7 separate regions of the Homo sapiens genome follow, and regions 1, 2, 3, 4, 5 and 6 are each linked to region 7. The links are contacts of gene promoters, found by promoter capture Hi-C in blood cells and fetal thymus (Javierre and others, 2016). All regions are on one chromosome and are shown on one strand. The core of a region is centred on a gene start or on the middle of the fragment in contact, and the rest is flanking DNA. Distances in the headings are between cores, read along the strand shown. Region 1 overlaps ZNF277 (zinc finger protein 277). Region 2 overlaps DOCK4 (dedicator of cytokinesis 4). Region 3 overlaps DOCK4 (dedicator of cytokinesis 4). Region 4 overlaps ZNF277 (zinc finger protein 277). Region 5 overlaps ZNF277 (zinc finger protein 277). Region 6 has its middle 49 kb from the start of IFRD1. Region 7 holds the start of THAP5 (THAP domain containing 5).

Region 1 (3,570 bases), core at 1,044-3,543, 3.7 Mb after region 7:
TCAGGAGTTGTGTTAAAGATCTGTATGTATTGCTGAGGCTTGCTTTTAATAATGAGAAAGCTCGGCCCTGATTGATTCAAACCACTGTTGTGCTGGCAAAAATACATATGAACCAATACAACTTATATTGTATTCTGACATTATTCTTTAATTTATCAAATATATATGAGCAGACTCAAAGGAACATATATTAATAAAGACTGTAGTCTAATTATGTTTCATAAATAATCATTTCTTTTTTTATCAGGTATCTACAAAATATAATATCTATCACAAAATATTTCTTCTTCCAAAACCTATAGAAAAGGTAATATGTTTTCCTAAAAACAGAAACCATTTTTTAACTCTTACTCTACATAGTGTCTATCTTCTTATACTAACTTATAAAGTTATAAAATTGATCATATCAAGTTTTCATTAGAACAGTGGTTTGTGCTTTCACATAAAGCATATCTCTGTCTAAGCAGCTGGGAGTAGCAAAAAATAAAATAAAAATAAAAATAAAATAAAATACAAAACATATCCCAGCCATACATTAGAATCTCTGTGTAAAAAAATCAGCATATTTTCAAAGCTCCCAAGTTGATTCATACATACTGTTAGGATTGAGAATTGTTGCCTGAAAGTAAAAATAATGGTATTCATTAGGATGTCATTTTCAGTAAAGTTCCATTTAGACATTCCATTGAAGCTAGTGCTAATCAGATTAACTGCTGGCAGAATTCATTGTTAATTGTTATGAGTAATTTGCAACATGTACCATTTATGTAAACTAGACAACCTATTCTTTCAGAGATACGAGATTTCTATCACCTTTTGGATTTATTTTTGTTATGTAAAACAGGAAATTTAATACCGTATCCAAAATGCTAGGAATAAAATCTGTTGTGTCTTGTTTTATTGTCCAGCATCATTTTATTCCCTCATCCTTCCTCTTTGAAGTCAAGTGATCTTTCTGATGTGGTCACATATTTGTAGAGGATTCTGTTACATCATGGAGATGGGATTTATGATACTTAATGTCACTGAGAACATAGAGTAATTGTCAGTAGACAAATAAATTGGAGAATTATATTTTTTAAGTGTCCTGAACATGACTGAATCTCAGGTGTTTTGCAGGAGCTTTAAAAGACTGCTTATAACTACATTTTTTAAAAGCAGCCCAAATCCTGATGGGTCCAAGTAACTTGAAGAAAAAGGATTTATTAAATACTTCAAAGTAAGGCCAAACCACCTGCCTTAGCAGGCAGGCATGTAACTGGAAATGGAGGACATGAATCTAGTGATTTAGTATCTTACTTGCTAGATATGGGCTATCTTAAAATTATACTTGGTTCTTTTTTTCTCCTCTGATGCTTCTGACATTCTTTTTTTTTTAATTTTAAGAAAGTTTTTATGGGTACATACTAGGTGTAGGTATTTATGGGATAAATGAGATATTTGGATACACACATACAGTGCATAATAATCACATCAGGATAAATGGAATATCCATTACCTCAAGAATTTATCCTTTATTTGTCTTACAAACATTCTAATTTTACTTTTAGTGATTTTTAAATGTACAGTACATTGTTACACAGTATCATCACTTTGTTGTACTGTGAAATACTAGCTCTTATTTAATCTAACTATAATTATACCCATTGACCATACTCCCTTCCCCCTACCCCCTACTAGCCAGCCTCTAGTAACTATCCTATTTTCTATCTCCATGAGCTCAATTGTTTTAATTTTTAGCTCCCACAAATAAGGGAGAACATGCAAAGTTTGTCATTTTGTTCCCGGCTGATTTCACTTAACATAATAACCTCCAGTTCCATCCACATTGTTGCAGATGACAAGATCTCATTCTTTTTTATGGCAGAATAGTACTCTACTGTGTATACCACATTTTCTTTATTCCTTCATTGACAGACACTTACGTTGCTTCCAAATTTTAACTATTTTGAACAGTGCTGCAACAAACAGCAGATATCTCTTCAATATACTGATTTCCTTTATTTGGGGTATATACTTAGCAGTGGGATTGCTGGATCACATAGTAGTTCTATTTTTAGTTGTTTTTGTTTGTTTGTTTCTTTGTTTATTTTTTCGAGACAGAGTCTTCCTCTGTCGCCCAGGCTGGAGTGCAATGGCACAATCTTGGCTCACTTCAGCCTCTGCCTCCCAGATTCAAACGATTCTCCTCCCTCAGCCTCCTGAGTAGCTGGGATTATAGGCACACACCATCATGCCTGGCTAATTTTTGTATTTTTAGTAGTGACGGGGTTTCACCATGTTGGCCAGGCTGGTCTCAAACTCCTGACCTCAAGTGATCCGCCCACCTCGGACTTCCAAAGTGCTGGGATAACAGGCGTGAGCCACTGTACCCGGCCTTATTTTTAGTATTTTGAGAAACCATCATACTGTTCTCCATAGTGACTATACTAATTTGTGTTCCCACCAACAGTATATGAGGATTCCCTTTTCTACACATTTTCACCAGGATTTGTTATTTTCTGTCTTTTGGGTAAAAGCCATTTTAACTGGGGTGAGATGATATTCATTGTAGTTTTGATTTGCATTTCTCTGATTATCAGTGATGTTGAGCAACTTTTCATATGCCTGTTTGCCAGGGGTGGCACAAGCACTTCCTTAGACACCGTGGCTGGTGTCTCACTGGGTCACATGCTCCCCACATCCGCTGGCTCTGAGCCTAGCACAGCACAGAGACTTGCCCAGTAATTGCAGTCCTTGTGGCTGAGTGCCTTTCAAATTTATTTGCGACCCAAGTGCACTTTAGCCCGTGGTTTGCTGGAACTCAGGTTGTGACCGCTGGCATGGGTGATTCCCCTCTGACTAGGGATGGTCTAAATGCTCTCTCCATGTGCACCTGCCGAGTTCTGCCTGGTGTTGCTTTCTGCTGTGACAGGGCAACACTGAGTTCCAATGCAAAGTCGCACAATCACTGCACTCTCCCTCCACCAAACATACAGATTCTCTCTCCAGGCCACATGGCCACTGCTGGGGGATGGGGGAAGGGTGACATGAGCAATTCAAGACTGTCTTTCCTACCTTCTTCAGTGCCTCTTTCAGGGATATGAAGTTAAAACCAGGTACTGTGACTGCTCACCTGATTTTTGGTTCTTATGAAGGTGCATTCTTTTGTGTGTGGATAGTTTTTCAATTTGGTGTTCCTGCCAGGAAGATTACCGGTCAAGGCTTCTATTCAACCATCTTGCTCCCTGACATTCTAAAGTTGTGTTAGGTGTGTCTGTGAACATAACCACCCTCTCTGGTGGAAAAGATGTAGATTCTTCTGCACTCCAACCTCGGCAACAGAGCGAGACTCCGTCTAAAAAAAAATGTGGTTATTTGAGGTTAAGGTAGCTCTATTTTTTTTCTTCAATTGCTTGCTCCTCAGTATCTAGCAGAGCCTTTTGCCTGAAAGTGAACTAGAAGGGAGAATTACTTTCTAGGGAAATAAGTTCATAAAACTGTGATGATCAAATGAGTATCAGCTAAGACTTGCCTAATTTAAGAAAGTTTCTATCTCATATACTAGAACTAAAAGACAATTTATTAGTT
Region 2 (3,427 bases), core at 194-2,693, 3.6 Mb after region 7:
AGTCTATATTTGTTATAGTATCCTGAGCTAAGACAACATCCTAAACTCCTTCCTTACTTTAACTCCTCATATCTGATGACCAAACCTGTTGCTTTCATTTCCTAAATATCTCTCAGATCTATCCACACTTCACCATGACAATGACTGCTAACCTGATTCATGGACTTATCTCTCACCTCAGTTACTGCAGTGCCTCTCTTTACTCATTTTTATGCCACCTCTTCCTTCATAAATAACAATGTGTAATTTAAAATTCAATACTGCTCATATTTCCAAACAGATTTTTTAAAAAAGAACTTACTGATAATCTATATATTCTAACAAAAAAATTGTTCTCATCTGTGCATCGACTGCCTCTTCTCTATAGGCTACACATTTTATGTAGCTCTAATCATAGTCTATATTTACTCTTCTTTTGTCATTTAACACTAGATACCTGGAATATATTTTTGAAATAGTGTTGTTTATGAAAATATTTCATTTCATGATTGTCTGATGCTCCAACGTGCTCATAACCAAAACTGATTTAACGACTACATGGTCATGTAAGTTGTTTCACAGACAACACGGCAAGGGACAACTCTGTGCATAAAGTGTTTTGTTGCTATTGATTTATTTTGTCACATAAACTTTAAGGGGTGGGATTACTGATTCAAACTTCTGCTAACCACTGTCATACTAGGTAACATGGCGTAATGGCTAAGAGAACAGTTTCTATGCAAGACAATTTAGGTTCCAATCCTAGCTCCACCATTTACAGTATGACCTTAAATAAGTTACTTAATCCCTGTATGACTCAATTTCCTGTGAAATATGAGTGATAACTGAATCCTCCTTCATGAGGTATCATGAAGATTAAATGACAATATAAGACAAGCTCTTAGAACTGTGCTTGACATGTAGCAAGTGCTCCACAAATGCTATTTTATATTGCAGTTTCCAATAAAAGTTATATAAAAGTTTCCAAAAGGATCATGATTACCATACATTCCTCAGGGTACTGCATATCAGTTTTACTGCAGTTACGTTACCAAAGGCATTCCACTTTTTTGATGATTTTTATTTACTTAGTAGTTACCCAATGTCATCTTGGCACAATTTTTTTTAAATGCCAGAGAGTCCAAGAGTTGTTCCTGAAGTAAGTTTAAGTTGCTTAAATGAAGCTAGGCTTGGGGAACTTTAATTCCTTATTTTTTTGTCTTATATACTCTAGCCAAATAAGCATATAGTTCACTTTTTTAATAAAACAAGTTATACAAGTTGCCTTGTCTTTCTAATAATGATCAGCAACATAAAAAAAGGTACAAAAGAATAGTGAGTGGTAAACCTACAACTGGCAAAGTACCTCAGTAAACCATTATCTTTACTCTTCTGTTATAGTGACCAGAGAGTGTTGTCAAAGGACATGATACAGAAGAGTCTAATATTGGTCATTATGTAATCCTTGTCAAAAAGGTCCTGGTAGGAAGACATACAAGTACTAAAAGAGAAAACTTACGCAATGCATGTGATGGCTTTAAATATTTGTTCCATCTTTAATAAGAAATACTACAGAAGACAGACTTTGACTTAGACTGAAGGAAAAAAGGATAATTAAATTCTTTGTTAAAATAAACCCACATATCTGACTATCAAAGACAATAACCACCACCACCATCAACTCCTTGCCAATGTCATGAAAGGAACTTCACAGAAACCCAGTAAGATGTGAGTTGCAGTCCTTCTGGTATCACAAATGTAGCATTTAAAGCAGTGTTTTTCAAACTGTGGGTCAGGACCCATTAACAAGTCAATTTAGTGACAAGTATTTTTTTTAACAAAAAAGAATAGAACATTACATAGAGTATAAGCAAGTGCTGTTTTAATTATATGTGTGTGGGGTGGTACTGGGGGATATTTATATATATACTAGGTCAGGAAATTAACTATATTTCTTATGGGTAATAGTCAAACAAGATTAAAAGCTACTAATCTAGAGTAAGTCACTTAAACTCTATGAAACTGTTTTCTCATCTCTTAAATAGAAATTACCATTCAACTTCAAAGGGTAGACTCAGATAAAATAATTTCACTTTTTAAGTAAAACATTGTATTACTGTGTTACGGTTACAGCCTTTTAGAAGGGTTTCATTAGAGTTTAATGTTCCTCTGATGTATATATTCACAGCATGAAGTCACTGTGATAGAAACATAGACATATTGTATCAAACATAACTCAGAAAATGTTGTCTCCTTTTGGAAAAGAATAGAGCTAGAGATAGGAAATCCTAAATTTCTTGAAATTTGTATAATCTCCCTCGTACTAGCTACCATAACAGCCTCTAAAATAAAAAAAAAAAAACAAAAAAAAACAAGATCATAGAGGAAGAGCAGCATCTCTATGTGGCTTCAGGGGCCTTGTGAAGAACTGTCACTTAGGGGAATGACCAAAAGAGGGGAACATTTTTATAGACCATTCCCATAGGAGGCCAGATCAAGAACATAAGCTGCTATCCCACTGTCTGTATGGCCCTTCGGTGGTATTTTACTGGGAGGTATAAATCATTTCTCTTCTATTCCCACTTAAAGTTTAGAATCCTGTGTCAGGCTCTAAATGTCACAAACAATTCCAAGCAGAACATTATTATTTAGCTTTACATGCTATGTAGATACATCATAGGACCACTAATAGAAAACACTTTAAGAAACTGTTAGCTAAGAAACTACAAAAAACTAAGAGTAAAGGAAACACATCCTTATTACGCTCTATCACACACATACGCTATGATTAAAGCATCTTTCTAAGGAGAAAGACACCTAACTATCCTGTATGAATACGAGAAGGTGCATCTTCTTCCACCAACATAGAAGGGGCTTTAAAAAGGAACATGATTCCTACCCAGATGAGTTCAAAAACTCCTTCAAGAAAAATAGAATACAGGAATTTATGTGATGACTGAGTGATACTCGCACCACACAATTTATTTTTTAAATGACACTGTGACTTCAGATCAGCTTGTTCTGAGTTTTGTTTCTTATAAGGTTCATGGATTTTCTGCACCGATCAATCCAGCCCGTGTTCTCCTGTCAAGCTTAACTAAGCTCACACATGTAAAACATCTGGCTAGGTTTGAGGGGTGCAGCCTTCAGCTCAGGAAGATGCCATGACTCATCTGTGAATCTGTGCATAAAAGCCTGTTGGACAAATGAACGCAAAAACAATCTGCAAAGGTCTTAGCTTTCTCCATGAATAATTCCCACCACTTTAAGGCGGGGTGGGGAGGGGGGAGGAATGGGGGGGTGTGCTAACAGATGAGGACATGCAGGAGGTAGAGGTAATCTGAGGAAATTGGTGAGTATGCGATCAAGAATGCTTTAGTCACCATTCTGTGCGATAGATCACTAAAGCATGTTCCCCCTGTCTCACCAAAACTTTGTACACTTTGAT
Region 3 (3,069 bases), core at 276-2,775, 3.2 Mb after region 7:
TGGAGATGTAACAATTAGATTAAAAATGTGGAGGAGGCAGTGGGTGTGATAAAGACGGATACCATCATAGGCTCAGAGATGAGAAGCAGTACAGCAAGACATGAGGAAAATAGATGAAAAGACAGTCACAAGAAAGCAGAAGCCCTGAGCTTTGAAGACGAACTGTGACAGGAGTAAACAAAGTAATACAAAACAAAACAAAACAAAAAGAAACTGATGAGCTAAGAAAAGACAAAATCAAAGTAGGGGCAAAAGAATTTCAAGGTGCAAGCAAATAGAGAACTATATGGCATGTGAGGAACTCAAATGATCAGAGTAAGGATAAGAATGACTGTGCAAGAACTTAGAATGTAATAGATGGCGAGGATTCATTTATTCTACAAAATATAAGAAAAAGAAACCATGAGATTCACAAATATAGAACTAGACTTTTCTTGTATTTTATATTTTCCTGTACTTCAGATCTGATTGAAGGAACTTATCCAAAACATTAATTTGACTTACATTAAAATATGACAAATAAACATCTAAATGTAGGGCCACTCCTTTGCTCTGTGGTAAGAATACCATTCTATTTAATAGTTAGTTATGTGACATTTTATATAAATGTTGGCTTGCCCAGGACAGCTTTGGATTAGCCTGTTATCCTTACAGAATGTTTAATTTTACTCTCAAAAATGTCCTGCTTGGTCATCCTAGTTACAAAGCAAACCTTAACAAAAGTGCTATTATGAATTCAATTTGCAAAAAAGCTAGAGTAAAAATTAGGGTGTTAAATAGAAAACTGTCATTTGTTCACAAAAGAAGAGATCACTAATATTTATCAAAATGTGGACTGCATATCACTCTGTGAGAAAGGAAAAGAACAGAAAGAAATTGCTACACAAAGTAGAAAGACCTCTAACAGGGGATACAGTGCTTTTTGCTAGGACAGCAACAAGACTCTAGGAGGGTGAAGTAGTGCAACCGGGGAACCCAATGGCATCACTCTGGGATCCCACACGGGTCTCCTATTAGGGCTGTGGGGAATGCAGGGGATGCACCTTGTAATGTCTGGGACTGAGGATTTCCTGGACTTTAATTTAACCTGCAGCTCACTATGCTTCTCTTAAAAACACTTGTAAATTTAAAAATAACTCTTCTAAGAAACATCACATTGCAGATTAAACACAAACAAAACATAGTATTTCTGGGAAAAAAATACAAGTATTAGGAGAAAAGGAGAAAAAGGGGAATAGTTTACTAACCAGAAGGCTAACTGTGCAGCCAATCTTTTTGCCATCTACCTCTCCCATTTTCATGCAGTCCCTAAAAACAAAAAGCAATAGTCAGAACTCAGAACTTCCTTCCTAGGGGCAAACACAGTTTGTTCTTTTTGGGGGAAAAAAAGAAAGAAAGAAAGAAAAAAAAAAAAAAAGAAGCCACTTTTAGGGACCAGAGGCAATTTGCATTGCAAGCGTTCGTTCATTTAGATACATGTTCCAAGGACTGATAATCTAATCTCTAGGGAATCTGGGGAGTCAGAGACTCCTGAGCATCAGCTTCTGTTAAGAATTTCATTGCCATGTCAAGATTATGCTCCCTCTCAATGGACATGGGCTCAGGAAGTTAGAGGAGTGAAAATGTGTTATTGTACACTTCCTACAGTAGGGTGAGAAGTGGCTGGTAAGCCTGGCCATTAACAATGAGAATGAGGGTTTCATTCCTAAAATAAAACCAAACTACCATGTATTTAAGTGGGATTAACTACTTTAACAGTTTAGATAATATAAAAATAAAAAACATAGGTCTATGGAAGGTGACACTGTGAGTTTCATCTCACCCACGTCCCCTTTTTAAGAGAATATTTAAGAGAATAGCATGATTGTACAATTCTCCATTACATTGTTTTCACCCTAAAATGGATTGGTTCTACTGGTTCTAGGGGCTAAGTCTAAATACCAAAATAAAGATTTTTTTTTTTTTTGAGAACTCTCAGGGACTCCGAGAATCCTCTCAATTCACCAAGACTTTGAAAGAACTATCAAAAAACAAAACAAAGCAACAAAAAACAAACAAAAGCTCAAATTAACAGCTCTGAACCAGCTGGTTAGAAGTTCATTATCTTAGTATACCAGGTTCCATGGTCTGATAATCAATTGAGTGATTCACAAGAGTGGAACGTTGATTGTATTCTATTTGATTTTCTAACTGGAGTTCAGCATGAACTGGAGTTCAGAAAAACATGCGACTTGGCTTACCTGTAATCTAACAACCTCTCCATTAGACGAGTTACAGTAGCAATTAATGAAACGCCACTTTCCCGCCATGTTTCCCGCTCAATTTTCTTTAGTAGACTGGAAAAGAAAGAACCCGGGGCATTTTCAACATTTATTTTTATCAGTCACCATGACAACCACTTTACTTTCATCAGTACCTTAAATGCCTTAGCAACCACTGCAACATCTCACAAGTAGCACAATTTGCAAACAATGTCTTACCTAGGATAGGGACCAAATAGTGGAATTCTAATCCAGGAAGCATTGACAAAGCAAATTGATTTTCAGATTATCCAAGTCATAAAATACAAACACATGCATATAATCATATTTTCAAAATATACAAGCATCTCACAGCTCAAAGACATTTTTTCCTAGCTTCTCCCTTACACTAACAGAGGCTTGCGTCTTACCACATCAAATAACACTGCAAAAAGCAAAAACAGGAGTGCCTCCAAGTTTACTTTTAAGCAAGATCTTGCTTTATTCACATAAAAATATTTTCCTACCTCTCAGTGGAATGCATCTTCATCCAAGCAATTTTACTGCAATGCAACTGCTACAGGAAAATCCTTGTACAGCTGGTATGACGTTTTGCGTTTTTTCCTTTCACTTAACATTTGCCCACTCAATACATATTGTACTATCTGTGCACTCACTCAACAGTTTCATTCATTTTGTCACTAATCACAGAGGATTTTCCATGTGGTTGTTACAGCAGATTGATGACAAGTACTGAACCACATCTCTCCTCCTACATTTCCCCTAATCCTAAGCACCTTGGAGCACAGGTACTATGTAAACACAAAAT
Region 4 (3,569 bases), core at 619-3,118, 3.7 Mb after region 7:
TAGAATCAAGCTTTCCTTTTCCTCTCTCTATGAAGATAACACTCTCTTCTTGGTACCATTCAATAAATGAGATTGCAGTTGCCAATATAAATCTTGTTAGATAAATGGAAAGATAAACCACTTGTTAAATCCTGTCATCTTACTCCCTCTTTCATCACATATGTAGGTCTGGGTGTTAGGCTTTGGTTTTTAATTTAGCTGGTGTGTTGCTTCTAACTCTGCTCATTAGATACAAGAATTGTAAGTTAGGCTATTTTTCCAAAGTCTAAATTTGCCTCATTTCAGACTCAGTGTAGACATATGGAATTTTTCTGTCTTGTTATATTGATATTGAATTTAGACTGATTTCTCATTGCATTATTCTTCTGACCTCTGTTCTTTTGATACATAAGATAACCACTTAGTTTTCTCTTTACTGCAGAGTGTGTCATAGCCTATTTAATCGTTATTGTATTTTAAAGACACATAAACTTAGGTGTTATTTCAGAAAAATTCATTATCACATAAAAATAATTCATTTTAACTTTCCTATATGTCTGTTTATTGAATTTGGGGATAGTAGAGTTTAGTCATTTTCATGCCCTTACATGGTAATTCCTTTTTATTAAATCTTTATTTGATACTTCTATAATGCTCCACTGCCTTTGTATTCACAAAAAACTGCTAGAAAAGCAGTTTTAAGTTAACATTTGATTTGTTGCTTTGGGATGAGTGAATGTGCTTATAGATTCCTGTCATTCTAAAGCAAATAGTATATTGAATCTTCTCATCGTTCCTTATTTTATGTTGTTCTAAGGTACATTTTATATTGGAGGAAAAGGTTCACTGAACAGCCCATCACAGATTTTTGTAGTGTAATAAGAATTAATTCCACTGCTCCATTTGGTAAGTGTACATCTTGGCTACCATCTTTTCCCTACAGTATAAAAATTCAAAGGAATAATCTTACTGTCTTATATTAGAATTACTTTTACTTTCATGATAGATAAAATTAAATTGATGTGTTTATTTTGCCTAACTTGAATAAAGCTAAAACAGTTCTATGCCAAAGAGATCCTAATAGACACACACATCTGTATTTTTTAAGAAATAAGTCCTTCTGGGGAAAAAATGGTTAATATCTGTTTTCTTATTTGTTTTCCTAATCTCTCAACAGAAGAACAAGAGAATTATTTTTTGTTATGTGACGTTTTACCAGAAGATAGAATTCTTAGAGAAGAGCTTCAGAAACAGAGACTGGTAAGAATTGTTTTTAAAGGGTGAATAGTGTCTTGAAAATACATATAAATACATATAAAATCATATTGGTTTTTTTTTTTTTTACTTTTTGTTATGGAAACTTTCAAACATATGTAAAAGAGGAGACAATACAAAAAGGTCTTAAAACAAAAAAAAAGTATACACTTGACTGAAAATTAAAGCGTTTTATGTTAAAAATGCAGAGAGAATTTTTGGCTTTGTTTTGCTTCCTGGATTATCTCTAAAATAACAACAGAACTTACACATTTTAGTGTAATTTTAGCTGCCTGACACATGCTAGGGTTCAGTAGTCATGGAAAAATGCCCTCAGCTAAAATTGAGTTGAATTGATTAACCTTTTTTTCTCCCCTTTACTGGAATGTGCTATGCACTAGCATTTTTTTTATTTCCCTTTATGAATTAAGCATATGGTTTAATCTACATAGTAGCCTTTCTGGTTTTCAGGCTTAACCATAAGCAAGCTAATTTGAAAACCTCAGCATCTTTAGCCTTTAAAAAAGATAACAGCACATACAAGCATGAAAATTTTTATTTTATTTTATTTTCTTATTTTTATTTTATTTATTTATTTATTTATTTATTTTTTTTTTTTTTTTTTTTTTTTTTTTTTTTTGAGATGGAGTCTCGCTCTGTTGCCCAGGCTGGAGTGCAGTGGTGTGATCTCAGCTCACTGCAAGCTCCACCTCCTGGGCTCACACCATTCTCCTGCCTCAGCCTCCCGAGTAGCTGGGACTACAGGCACCTGCCACCACACCTGGCTAATTTTTTGTATTTTTAGTAGAGATGGGGTTTCACCGTATTAGCAAGGATGGTCTCGATCTCCTGACCTCATGATCTGCCCACCTCAGTCTCCCAAAGTGCTGAGATTACAGGCGGGAGCCACTGCACCCGGCTGAAAATTTTTATTTTCGTAAGTTAATCAGAAAGTAATTTTTTAAATTGTTACTTTTGTTTAAAAGTACATGGGTTCCCATTATTTGTGATTTAATCTCGACTATTACTTGAAGTTGACTTGCTGTTCCTTTAGTGATTTCTTGTAAGTCTTTCTTTTATCTTTGGACTTAGCTAAATATGTTATAAGAGAGAGAAATGATTTAAATATTTGTGCTATATCCTCAAGAGATCAAGGAGAAAAATAAATGCTATTTACCATAGTCATATAATTTAAGAAAGTCCCTGGAAGCATATTTTATTTTGTAGACATCCCAAATGATTATTTCTTCCAGTAGGGGAAGGTGATACCATTGGATGTTGATTTATATCTAAGAAAAGTTTTCCTGTACAACAACTGCAGTAAAGAAATAGGACTTCCTGAGTTTCTCTTCTCTCCTTATAGCAGTGTCTTATGAAATCTGCAAAACAAGGCTAAATTTACTATCATGTCTTATGGATGTTATTTGCGTGCACTTATTCATAATTTCCAATTTACATGAATTTTCTCACTGTTGCTAACAGTGGCCTTAAGAATGATCAAAAGATGTCATGATCCTAGTAGTCCTAAGGATTTATTTATAAGAACTCAAACCCTACTACTTCAGCCATTCTTGTTCTTTAGCATGCAGAATCTGTACGATGTGTCTGCAGATGGACTCAGGTCTCTAAAAATACCTACATATACTGCATTTAAGTTACCTTTTTTACTTTACAGTTTGATAGTGATACATTTAATGGAAGTGAGCATTATGCCAGCTTACAGAAACAAAAGAAGAATGAAAAGGCAATCAATCCATACATGCTCGTTGAATTTCTGCTTAAGTAGATGCCTATACAAAGAAGTACAAGAGTACAAGGCATAATCCATATCATACAAGAGTGTACGGTCTACTTAGAGAAGAAAGATAAATATGTATTCTTATCTTGGTAATAGAGATAATGATAAAATATCTTGCAGGGCTTATGAAGATTAAGTGACATGTAATATACTTAGAACACTACCTGGCACATAGAAGGCACTTAATAAATATTAGCCAATAAAAATAACAGTAATAATGCTGTGTCTTAACAATGAGAAGGATTTGGATAGTTAAGAGAGTTGTAGGGAAGGGAAGAAAGATACATATGCATCTAAATGTTCAAGGTGTATTCAGGAAAATCGAGTAAAAGTCTACTCCGGCTTAGATAGAAAAATTTTTATGGGGAGGAGTATGAGATAAATTTGAAGAGGTAAAATGGAGCTAAATTGTGGAAATCCTTCAGTGCCAGAAACTTGACTTTGTAGTAATAAAGACCCATTAATGTGCCCTCATTGTCCATCAGTGACATGAAGAAAAGAGTAAATGTAGCTGCGTATAAATCCATTTCAAGCTGTC
Region 5 (3,463 bases), core at 719-3,218, 3.7 Mb after region 7:
ACCCCCGGTAACATTATCATATATGGCAGTGGTCCCCAACCTTCTTGGCACCAGGGACTGGTTTCGTGGAAGACAGTTTTTCCACAGACTGGGTTTTGGGATGATCCAAGCACATTACATTTATTATGCACTTTATTTCTATTATTATTAATATTTACCATGATAAAGAATCAGTGGGAGCCCTGAGCTTGTTTTCCTGCAACTAGACAGTCCATCTGGGGGTGATGGGAGACAGTGACAGACCATCAGGCGTTAGATTCTCATAAGGAGTGTGCAACCTAGATCCCTTGCATGCACAGTTCACAGTAGGGTTCACACTCCTATGAGAGTCTAATGCTGACACTAATCTGACAGGAGGCAGAGCTCAGCTTCACTCACATGCAGCTCACCTCCTGCTGTGTGGCCCAGTTCCTAACAGGCCACAAACCAGTACTGGTTGGGGACTCCTGATAAATGGCCTTTATTGTGTTGAGGTAGATTCCTTCTATGCTTTTAATCATGAAGAGATGTTGAATTTTGTTAAAATACTTTCTCCACATCTATGGAGTCATATATTTTTTGTCCTTCATCCTATTAACATGGTTTATCACATTTATAGAGTCATGTATTTTGAGCCATCTTTATATCCCTGAGATGAATTCCACTTGATTTTGGTGAATGATTCTTTCAGTGTGCTGTTGAATTTAGTTTGCAACTATTTTGTTGAGTATTTTGTCTATCAGGGATATTGCCCTGTACTTTTGTTCTCTTGAAGTGTCCTTCTCTGGCTTTGGTATCAGGGTGATTCAGACCTTGTAAAATGAGTTTGGAAGTGGTTCCTCCTCTTCAGTGTTTTGGAAGAGTTTGAGAAGCATTGGTGTTAGTTCATCTTTAAATGTTTGGTAGAATTCAGCGGTGACATCGTTAGGTCTTGGGCTTTTCTTTCATGGGAAAGCTTTTGTTACTGAATTAATCTCCTTACCTGATATTGAGCTGTTCACATTTTCCCTTTCTTCATAATTGAGTCTTGCTAGGTTCTATGTGTATAGAATTTATCCATTTCTTCTAGGTTATCCAATTTATTGCCATATAATTGCTCATAGTACCCTCATGATCCTTTGTATTTCTGTGGTATCAGCTGTGATATCTCCTTCATTTATGATTTAATGTATTTGAGGCTTCTGTCTTTTTTTTCTTAGTTAGCTTAGCTAAGGGTTTGTCAATTTTGTGTATCTTTTCCAGAAATCAACTTTTAGTTGTGTTGATCCTTTCTATTATTTTTCTAGTTGTTACTGTGGGACTGAGTACTGCAAGCCTGCCCTTGGGATATGAATAGGCATGTGTGATGGTTAATACTGAGTGTCAACTTGATTGGATTGAAGGATACAAAGTATTGATCCTGAGCGTGTCTGTGAGGGTGTTGCTAAAGGAGATTAACATTTGAGTCAGTGGGCTGGGAAAGGCAGACCCACCCTTAATCTGGGTGGGTACCATCTGATCAGCTGCCAGCACAGCTAGAATATAAACAGGCAGAAAAATGTGAAAAGAGAGACTGGCGTAGCCTCCCAGCCTGCATCTTTCTACCATGCTGGATGCTTCCTGCCCTCGAACATCGTACTCCAAGTTCTTCAGTTTTGGAACTCGGACTGGTTCTCCTTGCTCTTCAGCCTGCTGATGGCCTATTGTGGGACCTTGTGATTGTGTGAGTTAATACTTAATAAACTCCCCTTTATATGTATATGTTTCATTAGTTCTGTCCCTCTAGAGAACCCTGACTAACGTAGCATGTCTCCCAGCTGATCCCTGGCTAGGCAGCACTACTGTCATTCCACAGCTGATAGAGGCTCGAAGATGAGATTCGGGGCCATTTCAGGATCTGCTGTTGGACTGAGGGTTGCAAGCTGGCCCAGGGGACTCAGAATGGTGTGTCTCCCTCTGTGTCTTTGTTCCAGGAACACTGATCTAGGACTGTAGCTGAGAAGGCCTGGAGCCAAGTTAAAGGATCCTTTTAGGGTCCACAGCAGAGACTGAGGTCAACAGGTCTGTCTCCCTAGGCACTAGTATGTGTGACTTTTCCCAGTCTCCATGGTGGATAGTTTTGGAAGAGGCCCAAATCCAAATGGGGCTGTAGCCAAGTCCACAGGGAGACAGGGTCATTTCCAAGTCCGGAGCCAAGATCACAGTTCATGAGTCTGCCACCTGGTCGTAGGTTTGCCCTCTCAAAATGACCCTTCTAGGTTTTTAGACTCCACTGGGGTTTTAGAAACTCCTGCCTAAATCCCAAGGCTCCCACAAAGGCGCTTTTGTCCAGGGATGGCTGCAAAATTTTTTGAGAGAAGCAGGGATATAAGCAGAGGACCTCCTATTCCACTGTCTTGCCGACCCAGAATTCTCTGGTTAGAATTTTTTAAACTAGGTATTACAGACAACCATAGTCACAGGAAGGCTTTCAGAAGCAATTGGGGTTGCAGTCTTCCTTGTCACATTCAAAAGCAAAGAGCTCTGCCCTTGTTAATAAAGTCAGAGCATAGCTGACTCCTGTAAGGAAATTTCTGGGATTAGAAAAATGTGCTGGGACAGAGCAGGTTGTATATGAAGATTCTGTCTACTTTAATAAGTTGGGTTCTGCTCGGGCACTGTCATTTAGAATGCCCAGATGACTGCAGGCAGAGTATGCCATAGAGATTAGACAGGCATCAGTTAGAATACAGAGAAGTAGAGAGATCTGGTAGCGGGTAGTATTAAAGAAAAACTAGAGCTGGACAGTAAACTGGCAGAAAAAATATTTTATTCAGGAACTCCTACAGTAGAGCAGGGGTGTCCTATCTTTTGGCTTCCCTGGGCCACATTGGAAGAAGAATTGTCTTGGACCACACATAAAATACACTAACACTTACAATAGATAATGAACTTTAAAAAATTGTAAACAAATTTCATAATGTTTTAAGAAAGTTTACAAATTTGTGTTGGACCACATTCAAGGCCGCCCTGGGCTGTGTGTGGCCCACGGGCCAGGGATTGGATAAGCTTGTGAGGAAACAACACCTCAGTATAGAACTGGGCTCAATTCCTAATACAACATGGAAAAGTGGGAATTTATAGTCAAGAAATAGGTTGGAGGGTTTGGGAGATGGAAAATCACTAAGAGGAAGCATCAGGGATAAGGGGGGATTCCTGCTGAAGGCAGGCCAGGGTAATCAGATATCACCTGGGGGATGGCAAGAATTTTTTTCAGCTATTGAGGGTGGTGAGTTATTGAGGACGGGGGATTCTTTCTAAACTGATTTAGCAGGATTCTTGATAAAACTGAACTATGCAGGTCTGGCAAGGACGGGGCCTAGTCAGGAAAAGGGTTCAGAGGAACATGACTAAAATATGGTCAATGAGTCTTTGTTCAGTAGCAAGGACACAGCTACAAGTAAACTGGACTTTAGGGACAGGAGTCAAGTTATTAAAAGTCCTGAAAAAAATTTAGGGCTGGGTG
Region 6 (3,459 bases), core at 625-3,124, 3.8 Mb after region 7:
CTGGCCAGCAGGACACTCCCCAGATGTTGCACATAATACTTTAGCTTACATTCCACTGGTCAGAACTTAGACATATAACCATATCTCCTGGTGAGCTTCTGAGATATAGCTTTGTTTCAGATGGCTGTGTGCCCAGCTTAAAAGCATGAGTTCTAATATAAAGGAAATAGGAGAGAATGGAAGTTGGGACACTGCTAGTGGTCTTTCCCCAAACACATTATTTTGTAATCTGTTTTCTTACTCATACAAACATTTTCTTTTTTTTCTCCCAACTAATTTTGATGACTCCTTGCTGGTCATAGTCAATCTGTAATATTCTTCCATGTGCACTATCTCTCCTAACCCAAAGCACCTAAGAAAAATATCAGATGATATCAAAGATCCCATACATGGCTAACACAGTTCAGGAGGATTCTTTAAGCCAACTTAGCTAATCCACAAATTTTACAACATTAGAGCCAAAAGGACCCATAAAGAACATCTAGTCCAAGGAATGGAGCAGCAACAGATCAAGGCTAGTATTTCAGCAAAGTGCAGCCTAGCTACAAAAGCTTGCCTCTTGCAGCTAGTCCTGACTCTCTGTGATTTAGAAATACTAGAGTATGTTTGATTCATAGGCACATTTTACATCCTGCTTTAGGCAGATATGAATGTGCACATGCTACCCCTGGCTACACATCAATTTCCAGACAGGAATAAACTACGTACTGCTTCTTTTTCTAGGAGGCGTATGATGCTGTGGTGAATGGGGCCATAAATTTCTGCAGGAGATGAACATTCCACAGTCAGGACTCATTACCATGTCATTGGACTGCCTTTTCCCTTAACAAATATGATCAGTTTTGTTTATGGTGTTGGTAGGAAAGGTAGCCATTGGCTCAGAGAATGTAGCTCATTAAGCCAGATTAAAGCAACTAAAAAAAATTTTCTTAAGCAGTGTGGAATAGAAACAATCTCAAATTCCAGCCTAGGGTAGGTTGGGAAGGCAGTAGGATAGTAGGATTTTTCTCATTATGATGGAATGATTTACTTTTTATGTAGGCATTTCACAGTTTAGGAGGTTAACAACTACTCTGAGGCAAATTGTTCTAGAGTTATCAAACTCTGTCCTATGTGCAAGGCAGAGTGTAGCATGGTGAAAGGGGCTTATAATAACAAGCACACAAGATTTTTGGAAAGAAATGAAACTATGAATGACAAATAGTATAATATTATAAACTTTAAACTGTCTACCAATGTTATTTTCATCATCATCTTCTTTGTCTCATGGCTTCAGCATAGATGTTATTTAGAGTTTTATATGTATATATAAAGAGTTATATATATATATAAAGAGTTATATATATATATATATATATAAAGAGTTATATATACATATTAGTCTGATATAATTATTAGGTCCCAGGGAGCCCTAGGTTATTAGTCCCCAAAGATCTATCTTAGCCAGATAGTCAAAGGGTTGTGTACAGCTCTTTCAGTGGGAGAATTAGTAAGTCATCATGTAATTCTAACATTTGTGTGGGCAGAAAGTTGTTTAACTTGAACCTGGTATCCACAATTAAAGATGCTACTCTGGAACACTTTTCAAAGAACCTAATAATTCTCCAAGATTACAAAATGGTAACAAGAGTTGGATACTGCAGGTGTTACTTTGGTTCCTGGTAAATCTAACCTCTGTGTCAGACCGTTCATTGGAGACAGTGGTTGAATAATTCATGGTGCCAGATTTTCAATCTCCATGTAATAGCTTGCCACATGTTGGTCTGTTGGCTGATCCGTAAAAATACATAGTGCACAAAGTAGCAAGTAGAATTATTTTCCCCTATATTATGTGGAAAGAGTCATCAATATTTTTTCATGAATAAGTATTTAAACTACTGAATAATAGCTATATTAGTTATGTATTGCTGTGTAATAAATTACCCTAACCCTTAGAGGCTTAAAATAATTCCTATGAATCAGGAATCCAAGCACAGCTCAGTTGAGTGCCTCTGGCTCAAAGTATCTCTCAAGGTTACAATCAAGCTATCAACTGGGGCTGTGGTCTTATCTAACAGCTCAACTGGTAGTGACATTGGGGTCTGCTCCGAAGATCACTCATGTGGTTGTTTGCAGCCCTCAATTTCTTGCCAGTTGGGTTTTTCCATAGGGCTGACCCATGACATGGCAGCTGACTTTCCATACACCCAGTGATAAGAGAGAAAAAGAGACAGAGAGAGAAAGAGAGAGGAGAAGGAGGAGAGGAGAGAAGTCAAATAGAAGCCAGTCTTTTTTATGACTTAATCTCAAAAGTGACATGTTATAATTTTTGCCATATTCTTTTTTTTTTTTGAGACTGAGTCTCGCTCTGTCACCCAGGCTGGAGTGCAGTGGCACAATCTTGGCTCACTACAGCCTCTGCCTCTGGGTTTCAAGCGATTCTCCTACTTCAGCCTCTGAGTAGCCATGATAACAGGCACATGCCACCATGCCCGGCTAATTTTTGTATTTTTAGTAGAGAAGGGGTTTCACCATGCCACCTGCTTCGGCCTCCCAAAGTGCTGGGATTACAGGCTTGAGCCACTGCAGCCAGCCTCTGCCATATTCTATTCATTAGAAGTGAGCCAATAAGTCCAGCCCACACTCAAAGAAGGTATTACAGAAGGGCATGAATATCAGGCAGCAAGGATCATTAGGAGTTATCATAAACACTTCTTACAACAATGGTATTGGAGTTTTATATTTTGGAAATGATCATTTGGCAGATGGTCTTGGTTATAATAAATTATTTTGTTTTTACATAGCAGCTAATATCAGATTGTTAACAAAGTGAGACCCTGTGAGTTTAGAAATTTGGTGATAATATCCTAGAAAATGCTTAGTATCAGGTCAGGCTTTATGACCTACTTGCAGGTACTGATCCTATAAAATCTACATACTATTTTCATAGGTTCAATGTATTTCATCTAGTAGACTCTCTTTCAGTGAATTAAATAGTAAACTAATTTCTGCTTCTCCGAATTCTTTAAACTAATGAACAGAAAGTCAATTTTACAGGTGAGAATTGAGTTTATTGTTTATTTGGCAAAATTGGGCTGTTATACATACCTTCTAAAATGTAAGAGATGTGTGTATGACTTTAATCTCTAGGAGTTTATATCAATTCATAGAAGATATGCTTTGCTAAAACCAATGAATATTATTTTCTTTATGCCTGTAAAGCTTCACTTAATATTTCTTTTATAAATTCACTGGCAATGAATTCTCTTAGCTTTTCATTATCTGATATTCTCTTTGGGTAAATGATTCTAGCTTGAAAGTTTATTCTGTCAGTACTCTAAAGATACTGTTCCAGCCTCTTCCAGCTTACATGATTTCTGGTTAGAAGTTTGCTGTCATTTTTATCTTTGTTCTTTGTACATAATGTTCTATAATTTGTCTTGGCATTATTTTCTGAATTTATGTTTTGCTTGGGGTTTG
Region 7 (3,106 bases), core at 94-2,593:
GCGCAGCTAATTTTGTATTTTTAGTACAGACGGGGTTTCTCCATGTTGGTCAGGCTGGTCTCAGACTGCCGACCTCAGGTGATCTGCCCGCCTCAGCCTCCCAAAGTGCTGGGATTACAGGCGTGAGCCACCGCGCCTGGTGGGGTTATCAATTTTTTTTCCATTAATTAAAATACTGGAAAGCAGCCGAATCATTAATGAATAAGTCCTTCAGGTCTAAAGTAAAATGAGCACAAAACAACTGCTGAAAATCTGAACCAGGTTAGATCTAAATGAATTGTTTTTAAATACAAGAAAAAATGGAAATGCAGTATTTTAAATATGTTGCTTTTCATGTGTTATTAATCATGTGAGTACTATTAACATCTCCATGTTACAGATGAGATATGTGAGACACCAAAGCTTAAATACTTTCCAAGAGGTCATTAAGCTACAGAATAGTGGAACCAGGATCTAGCATTGAAGCCTGGACCCCTAATTATTATACGACACTGCTTGTCTGTACTTCTGAATAAAAATCAGTGCTTCAGTAGTTTGATGGAAATATATCGTGGCTCTAGTAATTCAGAGTAACAGAATAAAACCTTGTTCTCCGCAGAGTATCTACAGCCCTAAGCAGAAGACTAGTTTATAATTCTGGCTCTGACACTAAACTTTCAAGGTCGGTTACCTAATCATTCCGGGCCTCAGTTTCCTCAGGAGAAAAGTGGGATGAAATTATACCTATGCGACCTACCTCGCGGGGGGTGTAAATTAACTTTGCGTGCACCTTTCCACTTCGCAGGTTTCACGTATCTTAAATGGTGGTTAATGTTGTTCAATGAAATGAGATCACGTGAAGTGGGGAAAAGACTGAAAACCACAGAAGCCCGCGCAAACTTTACTGTTTTAACTGTTAACACCCAAACAGGCTCCTGGGCCTCGCCACCAGCCAGCAGTCCTCGCGCAAGAAGGGCATTGCTAGCTAAACTGAACTAGCGCCTTCCCTCCGTCTTGCCGCGGGCGACGGGCCACGTACGGAGAGCTGAGGACTCACTGGCAGAGCGGACAGGAGACACCCAAGCCCAAAGGCCACAGGTCCAAGGCCTCACGGCGAGGCTGACGCTTCTGCTCCAGAAACAACTTACGGATAAAAACTCAGCTTCCGGTCTTTATTGTTTCGTCCCCGGCGGTTCTTACAACAAATCGCTGCGCAATAGCGGGGCATGACTCGGGTGAGGCCCCTGGAGACCGGGGCCGGCGACGGATGCAGGGCGGCCCTCCTCACTGAGGATGCGCCACAGGTCCAGGCCTCTCGAGCCCCTGCGCCTGCGCTAGCATTCTGCCGGGAAAGCCGCCTCGTCTGTCGACTCACTTCCGCCTCCTCCGGTTTAAGCACCGCCTTTTCGGGGGTTGAAGCCGGAAGTGGCGCACAGCCCTAGCAGCAACAACAGTTTTCCACGTGCGCGTAGGGCGCCGGGATCACGTGGGGAGGCAGAAGCCAATGGGGAAGCGTTTCGTGTAGGTCTTCTGAGGTGGTGGCGCCAGCGGCTACCTCCTGCCTGTGAGGAGCTGGCTGAGAGGGGACTGGGCGCCGGCGGGGAAGGAGGAGCGCTAGGTCGGTGTACGACCGAGATTAGGGTGCGTGCCAGCTCCGGGAGGCCGCGGTGAGGGGCCGGGCCCAAGCTGCCGACCCGAGCCGATCGTCAGGGTCGCCAGCGCCTCAGCTCTGTGGAGGAGCAGCAGTAGTCGGAGGGTGCAGGTGAGGGACGAGGCCGGGGTCGTGGGGAGGGGAGTTCGGAGGGTCCCCGTAGCCCAGGCCTGTCTTTGTGAGCTGACTTGGCCTCGGTGTCCGCCACGGTCGCCGCAGGGACAATGGGCTGCATGTTTTTGGCCGAGAGAATGGAAGAACGGAGACAGCCGCATCACAGAATCGTGTTTTGGGTTGTGGCGCCGGCTTTCACGGGCGCCGGATTAGAGCCCGGGTCTCGGGCAGCTTCTGCGGCGGGGCCTGGGCGGGCAGGGAAAGTGCCAGTCGCCTTTAGGTGAAGGTTGGAGGGTCTAGCCCAGCCGCCCACCGAGGCTGGGGAATAAGGCACGGGCTGCTGGCTGGCGGGGCCGTCTTGGGGATGAGAAGTCTGTACAATACAAAACTAGTCTGCTAAAAAAAAATCATTAGATGTCCACCTTGAGACCGTGGAATAACGTCTGCTGAACCAGTGAGGCGCCTCCCTGTCAGTTTTAGATCCGCCCTTTGACTAGGGAGCAACCTGCAGTTGACGCAGCGTCCATGGGACACACTGTTGTGTTCCTTAAACCGAGAAGTGGTTCTTGATTCTTGGTACCCGTGACTACGAGTAACTCTCTGGAAATAAGTAATCTACCTGCCTGCTAATTACTCTCAGGAAAGGCCGCTGGAGAGGAAGCCAGGCAATTTCCACAAACCGTAGTGTTTTTCGTCAGCCTTATTATGGCATTATAGGTTACTAAGGACTCTGGTGGTCCCGTATTCAAAAAACAGGATCCATCCCTTCGTTTTGAATCTCAAGTCATTGAATACATATTGTCAAGAATTCTAAGTTAACATTTCTTTAATGGTTTAAAGGTAAAAGAAATATTTTAACTACTGAGTTTGTGAAAGTAAGAATCTGCCTTAACCACAGTACAAACTATCAAAGTTCATTTTTCTGGCAGCTTTAGCAGAAATCTTAAATTCTGTTCATCATGAGTTTTAAACAATATTTAGCCATGCTTCCTGGTTAAACATTTGGGATCTTACATTTGGGAAAAAGACAACATTCTATTGTATTGTCAGTATTAGTATTGTGATATTAAGATTCTCTATTTGCAGTCCTTGGCTCACCTGCTGAAATGAAAGCTGAATTTTTGGAGCGAGATTAATAATACTAATTTAGATATACTGGGCTATTTACCTTGGTGCGCCACCTTTTTTTTTTAATGTTTTTTTTTTCTGTGAAGTTAAATACATTATTACTTTCAGGATATGAAGTCTTGAAAGGAAAGTTGGGATCTTATATTATTTGGTTTTCTTTTTTTTTCTTACAATGCTTGCATATGATGAATCTTCAATATAAACTGGTTAAAAGTCAGTTATTGATAATTTTCT

Evidence for each region. Contacts are between HindIII fragments. The CHiCAGO score rates a contact against its expected background, and 5 or more counts as called.
Region 1: a contact is called between a fragment that was not itself captured here and the fragment with the promoter of THAP5 in region 7, in 2 of 17 cell types (M2 macrophages and total CD4 T cells). The highest score is 5.8, in M2 macrophages.
Region 2: a fragment that was not itself captured here is called in contact with the fragment with the promoter of THAP5 in region 7 in 8 of 17 cell types (non-activated CD4 T cells, activated CD4 T cells, total CD8 T cells and 5 more); the score reaches 22.2 in non-activated CD4 T cells.
Region 3: a fragment that was not itself captured here is called in contact with the fragment with the promoter of THAP5 in region 7 in 1 of 17 cell types (M0 macrophages); the score reaches 5.7 in M0 macrophages.
Region 4: a contact is called between a fragment that was not itself captured here and the fragment with the promoter of THAP5 in region 7, in 1 of 17 cell types (total CD4 T cells). The highest score is 13.2, in total CD4 T cells.
Region 5: a contact is called between a fragment that was not itself captured here and the fragment with the promoter of THAP5 in region 7, in 5 of 17 cell types (total CD8 T cells, non-activated CD4 T cells, activated CD4 T cells and 2 more). The highest score is 10.6, in total CD8 T cells.
Region 6: a fragment that was not itself captured here is called in contact with the fragment with the promoter of THAP5 in region 7 in 9 of 17 cell types (total CD4 T cells, fetal thymus, naive CD8 T cells and 6 more); the score reaches 25.0 in total CD4 T cells.

Annotation. Positions count from the first base shown.
Region 1 is chr7:112,270,416-112,273,985 of GRCh38, forward strand. The region is part of intron 1 of ZNF277 (zinc finger protein 277); the gene reads left to right. Among named protein-coding and RNA genes, the nearest start is that of ZNF277, 66 kb to the left of the region's middle. The HindIII fragment of the contact is 7,429 bases long and covers 1-3,570 here.
Region 2 is chr7:112,198,398-112,201,824 of GRCh38, forward strand. All of the region lies in intron 1 of DOCK4 (dedicator of cytokinesis 4), which reads right to left. Among named protein-coding and RNA genes, the nearest start is that of DOCK4, 6.3 kb to the right of the region's middle. The HindIII fragment of the contact is 3,251 bases long and covers 1-3,069 here.
Region 3 is chr7:111,781,617-111,784,685 of GRCh38, forward strand. It overlaps DOCK4 (dedicator of cytokinesis 4), which reads right to left. Exons shown (of 53, transcript NM_001363540.2): 33 at 2,481-2,507; 34 at 2,241-2,336; 35 at 1,248-1,308. Among named protein-coding and RNA genes, the nearest start is that of DOCK4-AS1, 25 kb to the right of the region's middle. The HindIII fragment of the contact is 3,714 bases long and covers 1-3,069 here.
Region 4 is chr7:112,295,073-112,298,641 of GRCh38, forward strand. ZNF277 (zinc finger protein 277) reads left to right here. Exons shown (of 12, transcript NM_021994.3): 3 at 797-885; 4 at 1,157-1,239. Among named protein-coding and RNA genes, the nearest start is that of ZNF277-AS1, 54 kb to the right of the region's middle. The HindIII fragment of the contact is 3,721 bases long and covers 9-3,569 here.
Region 5 is chr7:112,221,404-112,224,866 of GRCh38, forward strand. The region is part of intron 1 of ZNF277 (zinc finger protein 277); the gene reads left to right. Among named protein-coding and RNA genes, the nearest start is that of ZNF277, 16 kb to the left of the region's middle. The HindIII fragment of the contact is 2,072 bases long and covers 933-3,004 here.
Region 6 is chr7:112,399,602-112,403,060 of GRCh38, forward strand. No RefSeq gene overlaps it. Among named protein-coding and RNA genes, the nearest start is that of IFRD1, 49 kb to the right of the region's middle. The HindIII fragment of the contact is 2,650 bases long and covers 550-3,199 here.
Region 7 is chr7:108,568,363-108,571,468 of GRCh38, forward strand. It overlaps THAP5 (THAP domain containing 5), which reads right to left and starts at 1,344. Exons shown (of 3, transcript NM_001130475.3): 1 at 1,128-1,344. The coding sequence starts at 1,207. DNAJB9 (DnaJ heat shock protein family (Hsp40) member B9) reads left to right here and starts at 1,512. Exons shown (of 3, transcript NM_012328.3): 1 at 1,512-1,741. RefSeq lists enhancers at 927-1,406, 940-1,667. The HindIII fragment of the contact is 6,219 bases long and covers 401-3,106 here.